Linked DNA regions of Homo sapiens: regions 2 and 3 are each linked to region 1. The links are contacts of gene promoters, found by promoter capture Hi-C in blood cells and fetal thymus (Javierre and others, 2016). All regions are on one chromosome and are shown on one strand. The core of a region is centred on a gene start or on the middle of the fragment in contact, and the rest is flanking DNA. Distances in the headings are between cores, read along the strand shown. Region 1 holds the start of IQCN (IQ motif containing N). Region 2 holds the start of PIK3R2 (phosphoinositide-3-kinase regulatory subunit 2). Region 3 has its middle 9.0 kb from the start of MPV17L2.

Region 1 (4,338 bases), core at 1,248-3,747:
ATGAATCCCACCACACCCAGCTAATTTTGTTTGTTTTGTTTTGTTTTGTTTTTGGAGGGACGGGGTTTCACCATGTTGGCCAGGCTGGTCTCAAACTCCTGATCTCAGGTGATTCGCCTGCCTCGGCCTCCCAAAGTGCTGGGATTACAGGCGTGAGCCACCGCGCCTGGCCTTTTTTTTTTTCTCTCTCTCTTTTGAGTTTTGTTCTTGTCGCCCAGGCTGGAGTGCAGTGGCGCGATCTCCTTTCACTGCAACCTCTACCTCTCGGTTTCCAGCGATTCTCCTACCTCAGCCTCCTGAGCAGCTGGGATTACAGGCACCTGCCACCACGCCTAGCAAATTTTTGTATTTTTAGTACAGATGGGGTTTCATCATATTGGTCAGGCTGGTCTCAAATTCCTGACCACAGGTGATCCACCCACCTTGGCCTCCCAAAGTGCTGGGATTACAGGCATGAGCCACCGCGCCCGGCCTTAGGGGCTCTGTTTTTTGTGTGTGTTGAGAGGGCTGCAGAAAGGTTTTCACCAGGTCAAGACTGCAAAGTCACAGGACCACGTTCTGGATCCAGGGCTCGGGCAGGCTTCACCTGGTGTCTTCACACCTCTATCCCTAATGCCTCACCAGCGCCCTCTATTGAGAAATCTTAGCATTGTGCTCACTTTTTTTTTTTTTTTGAGACGGAGTCTCGTTCTGTCTCCCAGGCTGGAGTGCACTGGCACCATCTCGGCTCACTGCAAGCTCTGCCTCCCGGGTTCACGCCATTCTCCTGCCTCAGCCTCCTGAGTAGCTGGGACTACAGGCGCCTGCCACCACGCCCAGTTAATATTTTGTATTTTTAGTAGAGACGGGGTTTCACTATGCTAGCCAGGATGGTCTCCATCTCCTGACCTCGTGATTCGCCCACCTCGGCCTCCCAAAGTGCTGGGATTACAGGCGTGAGCCACCGCGCCTGGCCGAGCATTGTGCTCACTTTAAACAAGACATAACGAAAGAAATTCCTTTGTTTATCACATATTGAAAGGGTCCATTCGGAGACAAGAGGCAATGCATGGATAATTGACACACATATATTTATTATTTTTATTTTTTTGAGATGGACGGAATCTTGCTCTGTTGCCCAGGCTGAAGTGCAGTGGCACGATCTTGGCTCACTGCAACCTCCGCCTCCCAGGTTCAAAGTGATTCTCCTGTCTCAGCCTCCCGAGTAGCTGGGATTACAGGCACTTGCCACCACACTTGGCTAACTTTTGTATTTTTAGTAGAGTTGGGGTTTCGCCATGTTGGCCAGACTGGTCTCGAACCCCTGACCTCAAGTGATCCGCCCGCCTCGGCCTCCCAAAGTGCTGGGATTACAGGCATGAGTCACCATGCCCGGCCTAATTATTATTATTATTCTCTTTGAGACGGAATTTCACTTTTGTTGCCCAGGCTGGAGTGCAATGGCGCCATCTTGGCTCACTGCAACCTCTGCCTCCAGGTTCAAGCGATTCTCCTGCCTCAGCCTCCCAAATAGCTAGGATTACAGGCATGCGCCACCACACCTAATTTCGTATTTTTAGTGGAAATGGGGTTTCTCCATGTTGGTCAGGCTGGTCTTGAACTCCTGATCACAGGTGATCTGCCCGCCTTGGCTTCCCAAAGTGCTGGCGTTACAGGCGTGAGCCACCTTGCCCGGCCTAATTTTTGAATTTTTAGTAGAGATGGGGTTTGACCATATGGGTCAGGCTGGTCTCGAACTCCTGAGGCAGGAAAATCACTTGAACCCGGGAGACAGCAGCTCTGGGAGCTGAATGGGCCCATTCCAGGGGCTGAGGTTTCATCAACCAAACGGTGCAGCTCTTTAGAGGAACTCAACCAGAAGGGGTGAGAAACGGGATTGTGGGGGATGAGAAGAAGGAACAGGGGCCCCCTGGACACAGAAGCCAAGCGACTGGCTCGGTAATTTTGAGTAAACCCCTCTGAGCCTCAATTTCCCTATCTGTCACAAGACATAAGATCACCATCCTCAGGTTGCCAAAGAGACACAACAGGCTCAGCTGGGCGCAGTGGCTCCTGCCCGTAATCCAAGCACTTTGGGGGACCAAGGTGGGAGGATCGCTGCAGCCCAAGAGTTTGAAAACAGCCTGGGCAACATGTCTCTATTTATTTAAAAAAATAATAATAAAGAGACATAACAGGCTCTCCATGATGTCCCCCATCACAGGTGAACAAATCCACCATCAAGGCTTTAGAGGTCCCTAGAGCCCCTGCTGTGAGGGGCCAAGGAGCTGACCCATCATTTGCAGTCACCCAGAAGGCCCAGAAGGGCTCTAAAGGCACTGGGGGCCAGAGGAGAACGACAGGGTCCCCCACGAACCCTCGCAAACAAGTCCTCCACCAGCCCCACTCACCCGCCCCTGAAGCCACCAGCCCCACTCACCCGCCCCCAAAGCCACCAGCCCCACTCACCTGCCCCTGAAGCTAAACCTAGCAGTCTGAACGGCCAGTCTTGGAGCCCTGGTGCCGCAGCAGCTTTGTGACTCAAAGCCAAGTTCTGGCCAATCCCTGGCAGCTCTTAGGGGGTGGGGATTCTAGAAGGCACAGCCAGAGGTTGGGGAACAGGATGCAGGGCAGGGCCAAAGGTCATGGTGGTTGCTACCTACACCGGCTCATCCTGAGTACAAAGGGTTCTCAGCACAGAGGGAACCCCAAATCTCCCCCTCCATGTACCTAGAGGCAGTTTCAGTCTTTCATCCCACGGGCATTTTCTGAGCACCTACTATATGCTGGAATTTGCCCCATGTCTGGGGATACAAACAACTCAAAGAATTTGAGGCTGTAAAATGGCTAGATGGGAAGGGACCAAAAAGGGGGTGCAACGGGCCAGTCAGGGTTCTCACTGATGTCTTGGGTGTGGCTCTGAGACTGCGGGCTCCTTGGGGTGGGGCCGGACTTGATCTCTTGGGATCCCCACTGGGCCCGGCAAAAGTGGGTACTGACCCTGAGCCGCAGCGCTATAAGGGGAAGTCAGGCTGCTGTCCTGGATCACCTCCTGGGGCTGGGCTGGGGCCCAGCATGAGTCACCGCTGGCTGGGCCAAGGCTGACACGCACCTTGGACTCAGTGCAGCTGGCTCCAGCCAAAGCCAGCCTGGCCCAGAAGCCTCTGCCTGGCTTCCTTGGGGAGCCGCTGGGGGTTGCCGGGACAAGAACCAGCAGGGGTGCCTGACCTCCCTCTGCAGCGATCACCCCCTCCAAAACCTTCCCTATACTGTGGGTGTGACTTTGGACAAAATCAGGGACATGGCAGATGGCAGTTGGGTGGGGTTTATATCCTTTGTCTGTTTTTTGAGATTGAGTCTCGCTCTGTTGCCCAGGCTGGAGTGCAGTGCTACGATCTCAGCTCACTGCAACCTCCACCTCCCCGGGTTCAAGCGATTCTCGTGCCTCAGCCTCCTGAGTAGCTGGGACTACAGGTGCATGCTATGACGCCCAGCTGATTTATGTAGTTTTAGTAGAGATAGGATTTCACCATGTTGGCCAGGCTGGTCTCAAACTCCTGACCACAAGTGATCCGCCTGCTGCGGCCTCCCAAAGTGCTGGGATTACAGGCATGAGCCACTGCACCCAGCTCATCCTTTGGATGTTTCATCAGAACAGGTCCCTTCTGTGCTGTCAACGAGCTAAACACAAACTGGGAGTTCTCAGGGCAATTGGAGACCGTAGGAGCCCAGTAAGGTGCTGGCCTAGCCTGAGGGTTACTAGGGACAGGCTTCCGAGGACTGTGCAGCTGAGGCTGGGAGGTGGCGCTCAGCTGCATGACTGGGGGAAGAGTAGCTGGCACAGAACTACAGCTGCAGCCGTGCAAAGACCCTGAGGCCAGGAAGGCAGGATATTGGGAATTTGGGTGGAGAGGCTCCTGAAAGGAGACACTGGCCAGCCCAGGGACTGGTGCAGTCAGGACTTTTTCCAAAAAGGTTTCAAGTAAGGAGTCAGATCTGTGATTTAGAAAAAGCCCTTCACATCACAGCTCATGCCTGCTTGACTCCCCCATCAGACTGGAGGGCTGGCCTCAACTAGGTGTCAATAAATGCTGGGGACGCTGGGCGCGATGGTTCATGCCTATAATCCCAGCACTTTGGGAGGCCAAGGCGGGCAGATCGATTGAGCCCAGGAGTTTGAGACCAGCCTGACCAATATGGCAAAACCTCGTCTCTACTAATAATACAAAAATTAGTCAGGCATGATGGCAAATGCCTGTAATCCCAGCTACTTTGGTGGCTGAGGCAGGAGAGTCACTTGAACCCAGGAGGTGGAGGCTACAGTGAGCCAAGATTGCACCACTGCACTCCAGCCTGAAT
Region 2 (4,338 bases), core at 488-2,987, 120 kb before region 1:
GCGTTGTCATCAAGGGAGCTTGAATGGAGGGTCTGGTGTCAGATACAGCCGACTCCAGCCCCAGCTCATCCCCCATGATGCTGTGTGACCCACTGGGCACTCTGGTGAGGGAGCTTTCCAGACATCAACAGCCCACTCTGCTTCCCTTTCTGAGTCCCCTGTCCAGCACTGCCTAGTGTTGGAGGGTAGACCAAGGCTGTGCATGATTCACCCCCTCCTTCCATCCTGGAGCTGGCAGTGAATAAAAGCCCGTATTTACAAAGATGAGCTCCAACGTCTGGATTTGTGAGGGGCTGAGAAAGGAGGAAGGGAAGAGTGGGGAGGGGAGCGGAGTGAAATAGACCCATGGCTCAAAGTCATTGCAAGTGGGTTTTGAGGACTGCATAGCAGTTCGCTGTTGAGATTCTTCCTGATGCCATCGCTGGTACCAGCCTCCTGCTACCCTCTCCCTGCGAGTACTCCATCATAGCCCTGCCTTTAAAAGCTTCCTCCAGACATCTGGGCCCTGAGCTATGTTTTTTATTTTTATGTTTTTGAGACAAGGTCTCGCTCTGTAACCCAGGTTGGAGTACAGTGGCGCAATCACGGCACATTGCAGCCTCGACCTCCTGGGCGCCCTGGGCTATGTTAATAAAATAAATAAGCGGCGGGGCGCGGTGGCTCACGCCTGTAATCCCAGCACTTTGGAAGGCCAAGGCGGGCGGATCTCCTGAGGTCGGGAGTTCCAAACCACCCTGACCAACATGGAGAAACCCCGTCTCTACTAAAAATACAAAATTAGCCGGGCGTGGTGGCGCATGCCTGTAATCCCAGCTGCTCGGGAGGCTGAGGCAGGAGAATCGCTTGAACTCGGGAGGTGGAGGTTGCGGCGAGCCGAGATAGCGCCATTGCACTCCAGCCTGGGCAACAAGAGCGAAACTCCGTCTCAAAAAATAATAACAAAATAAGCAATCGTCGCGTCCTTTCTATCCTGGTCTTAGCTTGCGCTCTGCCATAAAACTCCCTCTAGCCGAACCCGGCCCAGCCCTAGAGCAATCCGTTACTTCCGGGGCGCTCAGCCGGCATGCAAACACTCTTGGCTACAGCCCCATCTCCGAGTGCGTTCGGCTATTTCCGGAAACCGTCGGCATCTAGGCTCAAGTCCGCTAAATTCTAGTGCCCGTAGGGGTCGAGATCGTTGGCTGTTTCCGGACGCTCTGGGTTGCCATGGAAACTCCTTCAACCCTGGCTTTCTCCGACTTCTGCTTTTTGCGGCAGGCCCTTTCCCCACTCTACTGCCCCCTGTTTGCTGAGCTTGAGAACGCCTCATTTGTCCCCTGGAACCATCTATGCTTCAGTAATTCCCATAAGCTGGCGGTCGCCTCTGGGTCTAAACTCCCAAGGCCTCCATTGGGCACTGAGCACATTCGGTTATTTCCAGAAACGCTCCGCGGTCTTGGGGATCAGCCTCAGTTGTGCCAGTGCGGCCGTAGAGAGTGTTCGGCCATTTCCGAAAGCGCTCGGGCGTCTCTAAGCCCAGCCGAGCCCAGTCTCGGATCCCTCGCCGACCCGATTGCACTCGGCTACCTCTGGAAACGCTCGGCTGTCTCGGGGGCACCCTCTAGTCCACCAGTCCCGCGGGATTACGTTCGGCTACTTCCGGAAACACTCGGGTGCCCCCTTACCTCAGGCTCCGCCTCGGCCTCGGTTCATCCGCCCGGCTCGAATGCGCTCGGGCATTTCCGCCGGGGGCGGGCCAGGCCGCTCGGAACCGTGGCGGCGGCGGAGGCGGGGATCCCGCGGCTGCGGCGACGGTGGCCGCGGTGGAGCCACGGGGCGGGCTTGGCTTGGTGTGACGGCGGCTGCGGCGGCGGTGGCGGCCGCGACCAGGTGAGTCCTGACTGGCCCTCGTGGCGGGGGCGGCTGGGAGTGTGCTTAAATGCGGGGCGCCCGGGGGCAGTGCCGGGCCCCGGTGGAAGCCAGAACGCAAGCGCCAGGCTGCGTCGGGCCCCGCGGGAACTGGGGGGGCCGCAGGCAAGGGGGGGCCTCGGGCTCGGCTCCGCAGCGGTGCAGCCTCCTTGGGACGGTCGGGGCAGAATGGGGAGAGACTCCCCGCGTCCAAGATACCGGACTGGAGCCGAGGCCCCAAATGAAGGGAGGCCCTGCCTGGAATGGGGCTTCGAATAGTACCGAGGGGCGCCCAGGCATTGTGCGGGGCAGAATGGGGTGCGGGAGGGCCGGGGGTCGAACCCACTTCCGGTCCCCTAGCCGGGTGGCCGGGTCCACGCAGACCCAAGTGCGCGTCTGTGTGAGCGCTCAGGCCCTGCCTTCACCCGCGGAGCCCCCAGCCCTGCCTGCCCCGCCCCTCCCGCCTCCCGGATTCGGGGAGCGCTGCTCCCGGGGCGCGCACACCGGGGCGTGGGGGCGGGCTGGCAGGCAGATCCAGGCGGTTTTCTGGGCATCCCCTCTCGGGGCCTCAGTTTCCCCACCTGTAGAATGAGGGTAACAGAGGCCTAGGAATGGGTAAATTGGGCACCCGAGAATGTGGCGCCCCTCCGCCCTGCTCGGACACCTCTTGGGGTTCCCCGTGACTGAAGGATGCTCAGAGCCTCCACCTGACACTCGGGCCTCTTGGTGGATAGCACCTATCCTTATAGCCACCCTGAATCCTTGACAAGCAACTTAACCCACTGCCAAGGCTTTGCATGTGCCGTTCCGTCTGCCTGTCGCGCCTTCCTATCCGCTGTGATGATCCATTCTCTAGAACAGCACGTCCATCCCCCGACCCTAGCCCTGTCCATCACAGGGCGTCTGAACCCGCAGGGCTAGGCTGGGAATGTGTGCCTATCTCCGCCTCCCCAGGCTGGGACTCCTGGGGAATAATCAATGCCCTGCTGCCGGCAGCCTCCCCTCCTCCTCAGCTGCAGTACCCCCACCTTCTCCTGGCTCCCTGTCCCTGCCTGGGGCTAAGGTTCCTTCTAAGCACCTCCCCATCTGCATTTTGTGCCTACTCTGGGCCCCAGGCTGGAGCTACCTGCCAGCCCACTCACTCCTCCTCTGCAGAGACTGGAGGTCCATTTGCTTGGACTCACCTCGAGGCCTTTGCTTGTGTAGAGGCCTCTTCCTGGACTTTGTTCCCTACCTCTTAGTTCAGCTGGCCTGACCCCTCTATGGAGCTCCCAAAGCACCCGGAGTGGCCTCCATTGCGTCCTCCCTGCCCTAGGTATCTGGCCACCTGGCTGCTGCCCCCTCATGTCCAACTGGGCCAAGTCGGCAGATCTAGGTGTAAGTCCTGGCTTCCTCCTGGCCTACTGCACGGCCCTAGATACCTCCCTGCTCTGAGCCTCAGTTTCCCCATCTGTAACAGGGGTGATGAAAAGCCTGTTTACTGGCCGGGCGCGGTGGCTCACACCTGTAATCCCAACACTTTGGAAGGCAGAGGCAGGAGGACTGCTTCAGCCCAGGAGTTTGCGACCAACCTGGGCAACATAGCAAGACCCCACCTCTATTGGAAAAAAAAAAAAAAAGGCTGGGCAAGGTGGCTCATGCCTGTAATCCCAGCACTTTGGGAGGCCAAGGCGAGCAGATCACTTGAGGTCAGGAGTTCAAGACCAGCCTGGCCAACATGGTGAAACCTCGTCTCTACTAAAAATACAAAAATTAGCTGGGTGTGGTGGCCTGCTACTCGGGAGGCTGAGGCAGGAGAATTGCTTGAACCTGGGAGACAGGTTGCAGTGAGCTGAGATCACACCACTGCACTCCAGCCTGGGTGACAGAGCAAGACTCTATCTCAAAAAAAAAAAAAAAAAAAACTGATTTACTGAGCATGTAGTATACCTGGGGCAGGTTCTTGGGAACTCTACTCCCAGCAGCTCCAAGGGAAGGCTGTCAGTATACCCATTTTACAGATAGAGAAGCTGAGGCCCTGAGAGGGACCGGCCCCAAGGTCACCCAGTGATTCAGGGAATTCCAAATCAGGATTTGGGCCCATCTCCGTGTTGGGGGTGAGAGGAGTTGGCCTGGCTAACGCTGCCCTATCCCTGTCTCCCTAGGTCGGCGTCCTCAGCTGGCCGAGCATGGTGGCAGCCTGCACCCTTGGCTCCCTTGTCTGGTGCAGCCAGCAGAGCCGCCAGCCTTGGGCGCCCATGGCCCTCCGTGTGAGGGCGTGAGCGGCCTGCCCCAGCCTCACCTGCTGATGGAGGACTCAATGGCCCAGTGACCTGACACCACACCACCAACTCCCTCCCACCAGCTGACGAATGGTGGACCCAGTGACGAGTGGCCCTTGTAAGGGTCATGGAATAATTTGAAGCGAGGCATGAGCGGCCCCTGTGGTCGCCTGTGACTGCTGGAGATAGA
Region 3 (4,338 bases), core at 1-2,500, 91 kb before region 1:
ATTTACAAACAGATTTTGAAAACAATATTTAAGCAGGCATACTATAAAACATAATTATTGTTGAAAAGCTTATTTACAAGCTTTCATCTCACTTTCATTTAACTTACTTGTGTTCAACAATTATGCTTAATTACTCATGAACATTTCATAAAACATTGAAAAAATAATCATCATCTTAAGTTACTTTTCTTGTTGACAAATCAAGTATCAAAAATCAAAGAAGCAAAGAACCTAAAAAAATAAATATATGGGACGCAGCACCATGGCTCACACCTGTAATCCCAGCACTTTGGGAGGCCACGGTGGGAGGATCACTGGAGACCAGGAGTTCAAGACCAGCCTGGCCAACACAGTGAGATCCCATCTCTATAAAAAATACAAAAATTGGCCAGGCGTGGTGGCTCGTGCCTGTAATCCCAGCACTTTGGGAGGCTGAGGCGGGCAGATCACCTGAGGTCGGGAGTTCAAGACCAGCCTGACCAACATGGAGAAACCCCATCTCCATTAAAAATACATTAGCTGGGTGTGGTGGTGGTAGCTCTAATCCCAGCTACTCGGGAGGCTGAGGCAGCAGAATCGCTTGAACCTGGGAGGCAGAGGTTGCGGTTAGCCGAAATCACACCATTGCACTTGAGCCTGGGCAACAAGAGCAAAACTCAATCTCAAAAAAAAAAAAAAATAGCCAGGCCTGGTGGCTCACACCTGTAATCCTAGCTACTCGGGAGGCTGAGGCATGAGAATCACTTGAACCTGGGAGGCTGCAGTGAGCTGAGATCATGCCACTGCACTCCAGCCTGGGCGACAGAGCAAGACCTTATCTCAAAAAATAACCATCCAAGGAACCAAAAAAAATTAAAAACCCACATATGGGTCTCTCCTTTACTTTTTAAAATTAATTTTATTGTCAGGCTTGACATCCATTAAGCAAATCACCTTTTTTTTTTTTTTTTTCAGACAGGGTCTCACTCTGTCACCCAGACTGGAGTGCAGTGAGGTGACATCACAGCTCACTGCAACCTCTGCCTCCAGGGCTCAAGCGATCCTCCCACCCCAGCCTCCCGAGTGTCTGGAACTACAGGCACAAGCCACAACACTCAGCTAATTTTCTATATTTTTAGTAGAGACAGCTTTTCACTATGTTACCCAGGCTGGTCTCAAACTCCTGGACTCAAGCAATCCGCCTGCCTTGGCCTCCCAGAGTGCTGGGATTGCAGGCATGAGCCACCGTGCCCACCCTCAATTCACTTCGTAAAAATTTTTTTATTTATTTTTTGAGACAGGGTCTTGTTCTGTCACCCAGGCTGGAGTGCAGTAATGTGATCACAGCTCACTGCAACCTCCATTTCCAGGGCTCAGGCGATCCTCCCTGCTCAGCCTCCCGAATAGCTGGGACAACAGGTGCGAGCCACGAGCCAGCATGCGTGGTAAATTTTTGTATTTTTTTTTTTTTTTTTTGCAGAGATGGGGTTTTGCCATGTTGCCCAGGCTGTTCTTGAACTCCTGGCTTCAAATGACCTACCTCCATCAGCCTCCCAAAGTGCTGGGATGGATGACAGATCTGAGCCACCACCTGGCCAAGCAATTCACTTTTATTGCATGTATTGTTCTTAGGTTTATTTTATAGTTTTACAGTTTACACTTTTATAATCTTCAACATCTAAAGATAACATAAGCCTGTTTGACTAGTCTTAATTTACATAAGCAAATGTGGTTTTCTAAAGTCAATGAAATAGAGCTCCTTTACAAGTTAATCTTTAGGAATTCCATCAAGAGGGAGAAAGTGTTACATACCTATAACATATATATATATAAACATAAATAGGTGCAGTCAGAAATCTTATAGCTTTCATTTTAAAATTATAGCTGTGAGACAGGTGTGATAATACAAAACTCACTAGTTTTTAAAAAAATGGTGGAGCCGGGCACAGTGGCTCACGCCTGTAATCCTAGCACTTTGAGAGGCCGAGGCAGGCAGATCATTTGAGGCCAGGGAGTTCAAGACCAGCCTGGGCAACATGGAGAAGCCCCATCTCTACTAAAAATACAAAAATTAGCCAGGCGCAGTGACTCACGCCCATAATCCCAGTACTTTGGGAGGCCGAAGTGGGCTGATCACCTCAGGTTGGGAGTTCAAGACCAGCCTGACCAACATGGAGAAACCCTGTCGCTACCAAAAATACAAAATTGGCCAGGTGTGGTGGCACATGCCTGTAGTCCCAGCTACTCGGGAGGCTGAGGCAGGAGAATCACTTGAACCCAGGAGACAGAGGTTGCAGTGAGCTGAGATCGTGCCTCTGCACTCCAGTCTGGGTGACAGAGCCAGACTCAATCTCAAAAAATATAAATAAATAAATAAGTGAGATCCAATTTGCATCTGCAGAGGCAGATGAAATGAGTTAAGATTACCTACTCAGATCATGAAAGCTTTGTGCTAACATTTGTAAAGACTGTTAAAATTTTTCACTTGCCAGTTGGTTTCCAAATTGCCCTCTGAGAACACAGTTCTGATCCATTGCAGGGGAGCCCCAAATTTTGGGCTTAGCCCAGGAGGGCTCTTGGCTTCTTCTAGGAAAGTATCCAAGGGTGACCTGGTGGTGTTATACAGCACCTTTTTTTTTTTCCCTGAAAGAGTCTTGCTCTGTTGCCCAGCCTGGAATGCAGTGATGTGATCACAGCTCACTGCAGTCTCCAAATCCTGGGCTCTAGAATCCCCTTTGCCTCAAACTTCTGAGTAGCTGGGACTACAGGCATGCACCACCTATCCGAGCTAATTTTTTAAATTTTTGTGGAGATGGGGTCTTGCTATGTTCCCCAGGCTGGTCTCAAACTCCTGAGCTCAAGTGATCCTCCTGCTTCAGCCTCCCAAAGTGCTGGGATCACAGGTGTGAGCCATAATCCCAGCCTGATAAGAATTCGTCCTTTTCTTTTTTTTTTTTGAGACGGAGTCTGGCTCTGTTGCCCAGGCTGGAGTGCAGTGGTACTTTCTCGGCTCACTGCAACCTCCATTTCCCGGGTTCAAGCGGTTCTTCTGCCTCAGCCTCCCGATTAGCTGGGATTACAGGTGCCTGCCACTACGCCTGGATAATTTTTTTGTATTTTTAGTAGAGACGGGGTTTCACCATGTTGGCCAGGCTGGTCTTGAACTCCTGACCTCAGGTGATCCACCCACCTCGGCCTCCCAAAGTGCTGGGATTACTGGTGTGAGTCACCGTGCCAGCCTTTTTTTTTTTTTTTTTTTTTTTCTGAGACAAAGTCTCACTCTGTTGCCCAGGCTGGAATTCAGTGGTGCTATCTCAGCTCACTGAAACCCCAGCTTCCCAGGTTTCAGTGATTCTCCTGCCTCAGACTCCCGAGTAACTGGGACTACAGGCACACACCACCACACTCAGCTAATTTTGCTATTTTTTGGTAGAGATGGGGTTTCACCGTGTTGGCCAGACTGGTCTTGATCTCCTGACCTCAAGTAATCCACCCACCTCAGCCTCTCAAAAAGCTGGGATTACAGGCATGAGCCACCGCGTCCGGCTGAATTCTTACTTTGCATTGGCTTGTCAGGTCCCAGCATTTCTCCCCTGCAGACCCCAGAGGGAGCAGATATTCCCAGCCAATTGTAGCCCATCCTCATCACCAGAAACTAGCAGGGCTAGAGCTTTCCTCCTCTCTCTGGTGTCTGGCTCAGACTGACAGACAGATTAACAAAACAATAGCACACAAAGCTTATTCATTGTAGATGGGAGCCCTCACGAGAAAAATGGAGACCGAAAAAAGTAACTAGACCTAAGTGTTTGTTTTGAGACAGGGTCTTGCTGTGTCATCCAGACTGGAGTGCAGTAGCGGGATCACAGCTCACTGAAGCCTTGACCTCTCAGGCCCAAGCAATCCTCCTGTCTCAGCCTCCCAAGTAGTTGGGACTAGAGTTGCACACCACCACACCTGGCTAATTTTTTAAAAATTTTGGCCGGGCACGGTAGCTCATGCCTGTAATCCCAGTACTTTGTGAGGCAGAGGCTGGGGGATCACCTGAGGTCAGGAGTTCAAGACCAGCCTGGCCAACATGATAAAACCCGTCTCTAGTAAAAATACAAAAATTAGCCAGGCGTGGTGGCGGGCGCCCATAATCCTAGCTACTTGGGAGGCTGAGGCAGGAGAATCACTTGAACCTGGGTGGCGGAGGTTGCAGTGAGCTGAGATCGCGCCACTGCACTCCAGCCTGGGCAACAGAGTGAGACTCCTTCTCAAAAATAAAGAAAAAATAAAAAGATAGATCACAGAGCCCTTCTGGGCTGGCTGCGGTGGTTCGTGCCTGTAATCCTAGAATTTTGGGAGGCTGAGATGGGC

What was found. The method cuts DNA at HindIII sites, captures the fragments that hold promoters and counts their contacts. A CHiCAGO score of 5 or more calls a contact.
Region 2: the fragment with the promoter of PIK3R2 here is called in contact with the fragment with the promoter of IQCN in region 1 in 3 of 17 cell types (neutrophils, naive B cells and total B cells); the score reaches 8.9 in neutrophils.
Region 3: a fragment that was not itself captured here is called in contact with the fragment with the promoter of IQCN in region 1 in 9 of 17 cell types (naive B cells, erythroblasts, total B cells and 6 more); the score reaches 7.3 in naive B cells.

What each region holds. Positions count from the first base shown.
Region 1 is chr19:18,271,955-18,276,292 of GRCh38, forward strand. It overlaps IQCN (IQ motif containing N), which reads right to left and starts at 2,498. Exons shown (of 4, transcript NM_001145304.2): 1 at 2,449-2,498. RefSeq lists enhancers at 2,925-3,219, 3,003-3,122. The HindIII fragment of the contact is 14,383 bases long and covers 1-4,338 here.
Region 2 is chr19:18,151,426-18,155,763 of GRCh38, forward strand. PIK3R2 (phosphoinositide-3-kinase regulatory subunit 2) reads left to right here and starts at 1,738. Exons shown (of 16, transcript NM_005027.4): 1 at 1,738-1,869; 2 at 4,032-4,338. It overlaps MAST3 (microtubule associated serine/threonine kinase 3), which reads left to right. Exons shown (of 28, transcript NM_001393504.1): 28 at 1-262. RefSeq lists enhancers at 489-568, 1,111-2,003, 1,309-1,588 and silencers at 1,699-2,078, 2,389-2,608. The HindIII fragment of the contact is 8,629 bases long and covers 483-4,338 here.
Region 3 is chr19:18,182,098-18,186,435 of GRCh38, forward strand. No RefSeq gene overlaps it. Among named protein-coding and RNA genes, the nearest start is that of MPV17L2, 9.0 kb to the right of the region's middle. The HindIII fragment of the contact is 2,344 bases long and covers 79-2,422 here.